2 separate regions of the Homo sapiens genome follow, and region 2 is linked to region 1. Evidence: promoter capture Hi-C in human tissues and cell types (Jung and others, 2019). All regions are on one chromosome and are shown on one strand. The core of a region is centred on a gene start or on the middle of the fragment in contact, and the rest is flanking DNA. Distances in the headings are between cores, read along the strand shown.

What was found. The method cuts DNA at HindIII sites, captures the fragments that hold promoters and counts their contacts. A contact is called where the count stands out against the background at its distance.
Region 2: a contact is called between a fragment that was not itself captured here and the fragment with the promoter of GALNT13 in region 1, in 3 of the 25 tissues and cell types used here (aorta, hippocampus and mesenchymal stem cells).

Annotation. Positions count from the first base shown.
Region 1 is chr2:153,867,999-153,874,019 of GRCh38, reverse strand. It overlaps GALNT13 (polypeptide N-acetylgalactosaminyltransferase 13), which reads right to left and starts at 2,098. Exons shown (of 13, transcript NM_052917.4): 1 at 1,717-2,098. The HindIII fragment of the contact is 9,874 bases long and covers 1-6,021 here.
Region 2 is chr2:154,136,331-154,141,887 of GRCh38, reverse strand. GALNT13 (polypeptide N-acetylgalactosaminyltransferase 13) reads right to left here. Exons shown (of 13, transcript NM_052917.4): 4 at 1,383-1,551. Among named protein-coding and RNA genes, the nearest start is that of GALNT13, 270 kb to the right of the region's middle. The HindIII fragment of the contact is 6,291 bases long and covers 1-4,502 here.

The DNA.
Region 1 (6,021 bases), core at 849-3,348:
GCGTGTAATACAAGGAGAATTATCCCGGAAGGTGAGAGGTCCAAAAGTAAATAACCAATAGGTTGACCTTACTTTTCAATATTCTCGAACCAGCAGGTTTCTTTAACACTAGAGGGCATGAACGCAAACGAGACAGAGAGAGAGAGACAGGGAGACAGCGAGAGAGAGAGACACAGAAAAAGAGAGAGAGAGAAAGAGAGAGAGACGGACTGAGACTCTGAGGAAAGGCAGCTTTCACATAAAGCTGAAAATATTCAAGGATACCAGAAATTTCAAGGGGGCTTTGGCAGCCAAGTGCCTTTAGCCTTGCGAATAAAACCTCTATGTTGTTATGTTGTTTCAGGGAAGGCTGACCACGATCTCTCCAAGGAAACCGCTTTCCTAAGCAATGAATGCATGGTAGTTTAAGGCAGGCATACCTCAGTCCCCAAAGCTCCTCTCCTCTGCTAGCAACACCTTTGCCTGAAGAAAGCTCCCACCCTTTCGAGGTTAGTTTCCCTGAACCCCAAAGCATCTATGTTTGCCTGCTCACTGTCCGTTCTTCTGCAGCTGGCTATAAAGGTTGGGGAGGCAGACTCTCCTCCTGGAAATTCAACTAACCATAGTCAAAGAATCGGGTATGCGGGAGGGGCTTGCGCAGCTTTCGCTGTCCAGAGTAGCAGCCTCAGTGCGCTCAGGTTCGCAGCAGCGCAGCGCCCTCGGACCCGGCAAGGGGAGCCTGCTGCGGTGCCCTCCACTCTAACCCCTTGCGCCCCTCCTTCAGGTCCACGACAGCCTGGACAAGGGCAGGCTGTCTCCTCCGCGTCCCCACTGACCCCGCAGGAAAATCTCTGCACCTGGAGATACCCATTAGATGCGCCAGGGCTTGCTCCCCTAACCAAGGCGCTTCGGGATCGCGGGGCTGGTGTTCGGGAAGACGGGGCAGAGAGATGACAGAGGGAGACAGAGATAAGCTGCGAGAAGCAGACACAGAAAGAGAACAAATGTTGCAAAACGGAGAGACAAAAGGAAAGACAGATTAACAGGGACACAGATATCCCAAGAAAGAAAGAGGGAAACAGAATAAGAGAAAAAAACAGATACATGGCCGGAGAGTGTGGACTGAGGGGACCAAGGCTCAGAAAGAGAAACAGAGGCAGAGACACACACGGCGAGAATGAGAGGCAAGAGGACTCTGAAAAAGCGAGGCAAAGGGGGCACTATACGAAGGCAACCGTCGAGGAAGACACCCAAGACCCAGGGAGCGCCTGGTGTCGGGTCGAGTAGAAACGCCCGCAACGCAGCCGGGGCTGCCTGCAGCTGGTGCGAGAAAGTTGTCTGGGCTTGGAGGCCGAGCCACCCCCGCGGAGGAACGTCACCAGAACGCAGAGGGGGCCAGAGCCGCTCCCCCCCCCCCCCCCGCCACCAACAACTCACCGGGGTAGCCAGAAAAGCAGAGCAGAAGGTGGGCGGCGGCAGAAAGTTCCGCGCCACGCGGTCCTCCCGCAACACCTGCAGCCCCGCAAGCGAGCGCACTCGGAGCTCCCGGGAGGCCGCGTCGCCAGGTCCGCCCGCGCCCCTGCCTTTGCCCTGGGACCGGCCCGGGGCGCTCGGCTCCGCGCCCCGGCACTCGCCGCGGGACTTTGCGGCACCTAGCCCCGGCACTCTGGCAGCCCAGAGGGAGCTCGTCCCAGACAATCAAGAGGAAAAGAGGGGAAGCGAGAAAGAGACGGAGACCTGCTATCCTGGCCAACGATCCCGCGAAGAGGGAACGGCGGTCCACACACGGGATTCAGCCTCAGATCAAGCCCAGCAGGCGCCGGCCGGCCGCGCCGAGTGCGGGGCTCGCCGAGTCCGCGCTCACCTGGAACCCGCGCCGGCCCGCGAGCGCCGCGCGCAGCCCCGGCTCCCGCCCGCGCCTCTCTCTTCACACTTGCCCGCGAGCAGAGGGAGCCGGCTCCAGCCTCGGCCAGCCCCAGAGAGGGGCCTTCATAGCGCAGCGGCGGGCTGAAGGGCTCCTCGAGCGCGGCCAGAGCGGACGCTGAGGCCGAGGAGGCGCCCAGAGCGAGCGAGGGCTGCTAGCACGTTGTCACCTCAGCAGAGCCGCCGCCGCCTGGTCACTTCTCCCCGGCCCCCGCCCCCCTCCCACCCCAGCCCGCCGCCTCCCGGTCCCTCCTCCTCGCGTGGTCCCTCCTCCTCTCGTAGCCCCAGCCTGGAGGCCTCTCACTGGGCTAGTATCATTTACGTAACCAGCACCCCCAGCCCTCCTCCCTCCCTGCTCCCGCTCCTCCCCGGGCTGGGGCGGTGCGCACCGAGCGCGCTCCAGCTGCTTCTGGAGCTGGCGCTTCTGCGATGTGCGCAAGTCCCGCGATACTTGGCAGGCACGGCCCCCAAGAGCAACCCTGGGGTCAGCTCCTCTCGCCGGAGGGCGCCTCGCGACCCCTGGCCGCTTTGGGGCCCCACAACGCCAAAGCCGGCCTGCGTGCACCGCGTTCGCCCAATGCACCAGGGAGCCTCTTAGAGGGGAGCTGGAGGATCAGAGACTGCCCTCGGGGAAAGCGCCGGCAACCCCACCCTTGCCGTCGGCTCTCCAGCCGAGAGATGCTGCGGGGTACTTGACGCTTCGGCGCCCTCCGCAGAAAGGACGGAGGTTGGCCTCTTGTTGGTTACAGTATCTACACCCTGGCAGGATCCTAGTGTTCTGGTTGGCGGTGACTACTGCCACCGAACGCACTGTAAGAGTACTGGAAACACAGAGCGCTTCCTTGTGGCTCTCAAATTTTTATGAAGAGGTAAAGAAAAAAGTGGGGCTTTGAATTCCTTTCTCAGGCAAGTAGGTATGATATTAAACACACACCCACTCCGAAGTACCTGGACGTATGAATGTCTCAGTTAATGTGTTGTACCAATACCCCCATGGTACTGAGTTTAAATACATGTAAAGATTTTAGAACAGTGCCTGGCACAAGGCAGAAACCTAAGACGCAGACATTATTAGCGTCTCAAAGACTTGGGACCTGTCCCCCACTGCCATGGGAGAGGAACTTTTCTAGGAAATTGGGATTGCCGAGTTCAAGTGCCTGCTTGGCAATTTATTCACTGTGGCTCTTGGCTAGTTTTGGCCCTTCGGGTGTCAGTTGTCTTGTTTGTAATAAGGGCTGACAGGGGTCCTTGCTTCTCACAGTGTCACTTCACACATCTTATAGGATGTTTTTGGCAGAATTGGGGGAGGATATAACGACTACATAAAAATATTAAACAGCCACGTTTGACAAACATATGATACTATTAATCATAATCTAGTATGTCAATGCCATTCTTGATTATACTCATGAAAGGCAATTTCCAGAGATATTATCTTTATATCTTTTCGTGAGTCAAGTATCATTTAAATTTCTATGTTAATAACTGTATTAATGTCTCCTCCTACATTGTCCATCCTGCCCTACCGTCAATTATGGAGCATTTACCAGAGATGCTTCTGTGCATGTGTGAGTACACAGGGTCCCACTCATAACACTCTGGAATGTCTCTCTACTGCTCTCTCTAGTGAATTCCAGTCCTAACATCAGGTCACTCACCTCTACATGGCATACTGAGAAAAACTGTGGACCAGGTAAAAGATTGGGGTTCTGATGCTGATACAGCTACTTACTAGTCCTATGTTTTTCAAAGACAAATAAGCCCCCATTCTTACATGTTTCATCTCTTAAAAAAAGGCGCAATTCCATTTTGCAGTCTTTGTGATAATATTTAACTTAGGCAGAATCATAAACTTGGTAAAATTTATTTGGGTAATTGGATATTTACGTAGTCCCAAAGTATCACCCTAGAAAGTATTGGCTTTTGGTGCATAACACACCATTCCAAAACTTATTAGCCCCAACCAATAAACATCTGTAATTTCTCAAAGCTCTGTGGGTTGTCAGGTTGGTTTCTGCCCTGGCTAGCTCAGTTTGGTTTAGAGATCTAGGATGGCTTCACTCACTTGTCTGGTGTGGCATACTTATTAGTCTTGAGGGTGTGGGACTCAGCTGCAATGTTTTGTCTTTTGTTTAATCTAGCCCATCATCCTTCAATAGGCTAGCAGTAGTCGTAGTTGCAGGGCTCCAAAAAGCAACAAGGGAGTGCAAGCTCCAATGTGAAGTACTCTGAGATTCTGTGGACGTACATTTGCTGGTGTCTCATTAGCCATGGAAGTTACATGGCCCAAACATAGATAATATAGTCCATGTCTTGATGGGAGAAACTATAATGCCATATTTCAAGGAGAATGCATACACAAAAATAACTTGAGGCTGTTTTTATAATATACTATAGATCCTTAATTACAAACGAATAATAAATTACATGTAGTGGATAAATCTGGTAAACATCACCTTAACCAACTGACCAAGGTTAAAGTCACCAATAATGGGACCAAGTGATATCATGAGCCTCATGATATGATGCACTGAGAAGTACATAACATTATTGATTTAGGATTCCAGATTAAAAAATGCATAATTGAATGCAATCACGAGAAAGCAAAGAAAGCCTTAAATTAAGGAAAATTCTACACAATATCTTGCCTATACTTTTCAAAAATGTCACTGTGATGAAAGTCAAAGAAAAGCTGAGGAAATATTCCAGACTAATGGAGATTTAAAAACCATGACTACTAAATGCAATGTGTAATCCAGAATTGGAGAGCAAACTGGGAATAATATCTATTAATATAAAGAGCATTACTGAGACAATCTAATTCAAAATATTAATAAAAACTATAATATCTAAACTGTATGACTTTTATTTATAATCAAATTAGTTTTATATCAATATTAAGTGTCCTAATTTAATTGTATTGTGATCATATATAAGAAAGCCCTGGATCTTTAAAAAATATAATAAAATATTTTGCAGTAAAAAGAACATAGAGGTTGTAAGGTCCAGAAATACCTATAGAGAGAATGATGATGCAAATGTGGCAACCTTTTATAACACCATTGGTAAATTTTGGTGAGGGGTATGTGTTAATTCTTTGTAGTAATTTTGCAATATTTCTTGAAGTTTAAATACTTTTTTAAAAATCAGGTAGTTATCATTATTTACCTCATAAGAATAATAACCACAATAATTTATCTGAATGAGTGTTGAAAGTTATTAAAAAGTCATATTTTTTCAAACAGAAAGTTTGGCATTTATCTTTAATCAAAGTGGAGCTATTGCAAGTATTTGCTTAGATAAATGGTAAGACCAATACTGTACAATTCTTGGCTATAAGGCCAATACAAGGGCTACCAGGCCAAGAATGTCTATTGGCCAATATAAGGCCAAATGTATAGGGCCTTAGCTACAGAGTATACAAAAGACAGGGATATGAGTTTAGCAGCTACAATTGTCCATTATGTGATTAACCAAGGCGCTCATTCTAAAGGGAAATAAAGGGTGAGATAGTTATGTCTTGCTGAAATTAAATTACCAGGTTTTGGCAAATTATTAGGAATGATGGATAAAGGAAAATGTATTATATAACTTTAAGAGATTAAGATTGGATGAGTAGGATGATGGAGATGCCATTATTAAGGGACACTGAAAGCAATAACTTTATTTTCTAAAATGAAATCTAATAATATTTTCTTCTAATTATAACATTTAAGTGGCTTCTCATTGATTTTAAGAAATTGTCTAAAATCTCTAACATGCCCTATAAGAACCTTTATACTCTGGGGCTCTGCTTACCTCCTTTGTACTTACAATGAGCTAAGCACTGCAATAGGTTTTGAAGACAAAGAGGAAAGTAAAGACAGCCTGCACAAAACTTAGGGTTCAGTCATACATCCCATGAATATACATTGAGCACTTACAGAATGACAGTTATTTACTAGGAACTGGGAATACAGCAGTGAGCTAAGGCTAATGCTCACTGCTATATTCCCAGTGCCTACCAGTGAGAAGAAGAAAATGCCTAGCACTGTCTAGCAGTGAGAAAAAAGATATAGATCCTGCCTTCATGAATACTACATTTTGCTGAGGTATGTCCTAACCCAAAGGTCTGCAACC
Region 2 (5,557 bases), core at 108-2,607, 270 kb before region 1:
ACATAAAAGTTGAATTTTTCAACATCATTTTTCGTGCAATATTATTTCCAAGTGCATATTTCTTCCATAGCTGATAATTAAGCATTCTAATTATAAACAGCAGTATAAATTGCTGGAAACCATAATAAACCACTTTTATAGGGTGAAAGAGTCATATAGACAATGAGCTATTTTTGTGCTGGAAAAGCAATGCAGGTATACTTTTTATAAGCAAAGTATATGGACCTTTTTATGCAGTAAGGCAAATACAGCCATGCATTACCCAATGACAGATCACATATATGATGAGAGTCTCATAAGATTATAATGAATCAGAAAGATTCCTATTGCCTAGTGATGTTTGATGATCCTGACCCCGAATAGACCTAGGCTAATGTGTATGTTTGTGTCTTCGTTTTTAAAAGAAAAAATTGAAAATCACATTAAAAATGGAAAAAAACTAATAGAATAAGGATATAAAGAAAGAAAATATTTTTTACAGCTGTATAGTATGCTTGTGTTTTAAGGTAAGTATTAATACTAAACAGTTTAAAAGTGAAAAAAATTCAAGACTTTATGAAGTAAAAATATCACAGTAATGTAAGGTTAATTCATTACTGAAGAAAGAAATTTTAAAAAGAAATTTAGTATAACCTAAGTGTATAGTGTTTATAAAGTCTACAAGTAGCGTACAGTAATGCCCTAAGCCTTCACATTCACTACACACTCACTGACTCACCCAGAGCAACTTTCAGTCCTGCAAGCTCCATTCATGTTACATGACCTATACAAGTATACAAATTTTTATCTGTTACACCGTGTTTTTACTATACCTTTTCTATGTTTAGATACAAAAATACTTAACATAATGTTACATTTATCTCTAGTGTTCAGTACAGTAAAATGCTGTACAGAGTTACAGCCTAGAAACAATAGGCTACATTATATAACCTAGAAATGTAGTAGTCTATACCATATAGGTTTGTGTAAGTACACCTATGATGCTTACACAATGACAAAATTGCCTAATGACATATTTTCCAGAACATTTCTGCAGTGTTAAGCAATATACGACTGTAATCTACTAAAGAGCATATTTGCTCTGAATCTGGTACGATAAAGAAAGCACAACAAAATGACAACAACAAAAAACATCTCACATAGAAAAACCTGTTTGGCCTGAGTATTTTGCAGCATCTTTGCAAGTAACGTATTTTTCTTTGCCAGGGAAGAAAATAGTTCGCCTTTTTCAGCATATGCATGCACAATAAATTCCTGCTATGTGATAGGTACTCAGAACCACACATTGCTAGAATTGATATAATCTGAGTTAGCTCAAGTTCTGAGATTCTGAAATATGGTGATTATGAATATAAAAGATTATATAACAAATGCAAACTTACCCTTCTAATCTTACATCTGGCAGACTTCTATTAAGGGCAATCAAATCACTGGCCATAAGGTTAAACTGATTGATTTTAAACAGCTCTTTCATTTTCTCCTGGTCATCTTTAGGAATCAACACAGCTTTTCCCATTTCTCCTGGCCCTTCTTGGTTTCTTGAAATAACAGCTGTAAGACATACAGAGATACAGACATACATACAAACACACAGATAATGAACTGAATAAATAAACTTGTGTGTCTGATTAGATTCTGAAGCATATTATTTACATACAGGTTTTATAATATAATGATCAAGATTTTACTGATTATAAACCACACACTCTGCTAAAGAAAAACATCAATTCTGCGTATTATCTTCCAAGTTTAGATAAATTATATGATGACTAAACATTAAGACAATAATTCTAAATGTACAAAATACCCAATCTTAAAACTTCTGTCATATATTTCATACACTATTAGAGAAAACTGAAGTTGAACACTAGGCAGACAAAATAATGCAAAATAAAAGAACTTTAAAGAATACTAAGATTAATTTATTTTCACATCCAATTAAATGTTTTGATATTTCACATATCTACTGCCATTACATCTTTATAAAGGCAAACAAAACTAAACATTTTGAATTGTGTCAAAAGAAGCTTCATAGTGGTGACACATAACTTCAAATGTCAAGTTGAAATTTGGATACTATGTGCTCTATAATTGAAACTTCACAATAATATTCTGGGCTTGAATATTCGTGAAGAGAACGCAGGATTTGATATATAGGCTAATTTTCTCGCCACTTCTCCCAAGTTATCACTACACTAAAGTCCCTTCTAGATCTAAAGTATACGTTTCAAGGGGTGTGTGTGTGTGTGTGTGTGTGTGTGTGTGTTGCCTACACATACCTGTATGCATGCTAATATATAGTAATAAGACAAAGTGCCAGTTGGCCCAAATGCATCCTGAAGTTACTCTTCAGAGTGATATTAAATTAGGTTAAAGTGAAAGGAATGTGGTTCTGGTCTCGACTCTTCCAATGTCTCGACTCTTCCAATGTTCTGCTATATTATAGTTCCTAACACATTAATCTTACTGAGTTTAATTTCCATATAAATTAAAAGGCACATATTTAGGCACAGCATACCTTGAAATACTGAAAAAAAATAAGGACTATAATGCATATGAAAATAATTTTTAAGTTAGAACATTTCATTAAAAACATAAATTCTAAAATAATGTATGAATATGGTAAAAACTAGGATAGAACACATCCAGCAAATTTTGCTCTGAGCCAACCATCATAGCCACAAAACAGCAAAACTGGTATTATTAGCATGAATACACAGTTGACCATCCAGTTGATGACTTTGTAATGGCATGAGTCAAACCATATAAGAGAATAGGCATCTCTAAGGACCTTTAGATATGGGTAAAAAAAAGTGATTGGCCTTGAAATCCTCTCACATATATAAAAATAGTTAGAACTGGAAACATTGAATATAGAAAAAAATATGTATTCAATTTCAAACTATTTAAAAAGTTGTCATCAAAATAAAGTTTACAAAGATTATCATTCACTTTAAAAAGCAAAAATAGAAACAATGGCAGAAATTTTATGAGAAGGTGTATTTTTCTAAATTTAAGAAATAAAATTCCAATAAAAATAATTTTCTTTAGGTGTTAGTATATGTAATATCCCTAAACTCAGATGACGTTATTGGATTTGGCTTTGGATGAATTTGTGATGTCGGTGAGACAATGACATTAAGGTATCTTTCATTTGTAAGATTAAAAAAATTTTTTAGTCTACATAAAGTATTAAATGAATTTATATGTGGCTTCTTTGTGAGTCTTTCTAATTCTGAAATAAGAACATAAACAGGTGACATGGGCGCTCCTATTAACCATAAATATTCAGTTTAGGTTTTTTTTTTTTTTTTAACATATCTTGGACTGTAACTTTAATTCCATAAAAAAGAGATACTTTTTCCCTGGTATAAAAAATATTCTGATTCTTAACATTTTGAAAATTTGTGATTCTTTTGAATGGTTAAATAATTTGGGGTACATTTTTAAAAATAATTTTTGGAAATTAAGAAAGAAATTCCCTGTTTACAGTTGTTTACAATATCTTTGTAGGGGAACAAAACCTTCTTTATCCTCTTACATTCTGTGGTGATATAAGAATTAAACTGGCATAATACAGATTAATAGGAAAAGAGCATACAAATGTATTTTTATGTGTACACAGGAGTCTTCAGAAGGAAAATGAAGGTCAAAGAACCTTTTAGGCCCAAAAGCTTATATATCACTTTAAACAAAGAATAATAAATTGTCAGTAAGTGATAATACAAAGGAGATTTAGGTAGGGAGCTAGGGGCAGTAAATTGTGGGTTTGTAACTAGGAAATGTATGGGGAAAACTATGAGGAGATTAGGGTTATTTTAGTAAGCTTGTTTGCATAGGTCCATTCCAGTGTTGACTCATAACTTCTGGTGACGAGAACAATTTTTGCTTTCTAATACAGTGGGAAGGGGTGGGGGGATTTGTATCATGGGAAACTTTGTGACCTTCTTTTAGGCAGAAACAGGGAGATCAGAAACAGCTTCCTGCATGTGCTCTTTCTTAAGAAAGAGCCTGCAGCTTAAAATAACCCATATGACAAAGTGGCATATTTGGGGATGCATGTTCTGATCCCTTTCACCGTCTGTAAACTGATAAAAAGACATGCTGCAGAGAAAGTCACCATAATCAACACAATGCTTCCAAGACTAGGAAGCAGATAGGATTAAAATTTCGCTCTGTGGAAAAGACATGGGCTCAACTCTAACACCTTAAGCTATGAAGGTCAATTTAAAGCACACAGAAGTATTTGATATTTGCAATATATTCAAAGGCATGACAGTTTTATTTTCACATTATGTAAGTTATAGTTTTGTCAGTGGTAGCAGGAGTAATTGTGCCATGTTTTGGTATCATAATCAATGAAATTAAAATGGTCATAAACAGTGTCCGTATACCTAGGACTACTTGCAACAACATGTAGTCATTCTCCTAATTATTCTCAGTTTCTTAGTGGAGAATAGGTAACAACTTAAAGAATATCAGGTTAAGCGTCTTCTCCCCAGAGTTAAATACATTCTTCTGTTACAGCTTCTAATGAATATATATTTGACATTTTTAAAATGTGTGTGTGTGTGTGTGTGTGTGTTTTGCCTGTGTATAAGCAGGCCTATTGGTGTTTTTCACTTTGCTCAAGCAAAAAGAATGCTAAGTAGTTATAGTGGGGAACGAGCCTTTTACTTTTTCTGGCTTTTACCTGGAGGAAGGCATCTTACCAGAAGAAAACACTTTTCTAATTCTTCAAATAGCATAAATAACAAATGGGAAAGAATAAGCAGTTGGGTGTTGTGACTTATCACTGGTCTTAAGCACCTTTAAATATCAGTTTCTATACATTTTTCTCACCTGTTGATTTCCTTTACATAGCACACACACAAAGAGACTCATGTACTCACAAAATATCATGCTTCCCCATAGTCAGAGGAAAAAAAAAACCACTTGTCATCTAAATATGTGTGCTATTTATCTACTCTAATAGGCAAATGTAATGCAGAAGGCAAGCAAATCTACATTGTGGTTTTTTTATTGTTGATTTGAATATGGATGAAATGTTCAAATACCAAAGCTGGCGTAGACTTCAAAAAGAGATTAATTTATTATGCTATGAGCTATTTTCTTCCTAATTATATAGTGAAATTATTTAAAAAAATAATTAGTTTGACTCAAAATGACATTATAAAGCTTTTAGAAATATGATAAAACCAGAATCATTTTATACCTTTCATTTTCTCTAACACAGAACCTACTTAAAAAATTTAATTTACATTTATTTTAATCTTAGAATTCCCAGTGTTAAAGAAGATGATCATATTATAAACAAAACAACTGATAAATCTACCAAAAAGAACACTATTTATCAATTGCATTATTTGCTTATGTATATTACATTGTGAACATTTTCTTATTTGCAGAATTACCCCTTTATTAGTGGGCAGTGTCTCTTTGAAAAAAGAGAAATGAACTAGTCTATATCTAGGAAAAAGCTTGAAGCAAAAACAAACAACAAAAAACATTTCAAGTTGATTGATTTTAAAGTAATAATTTTATTCTGTTAGAGAAC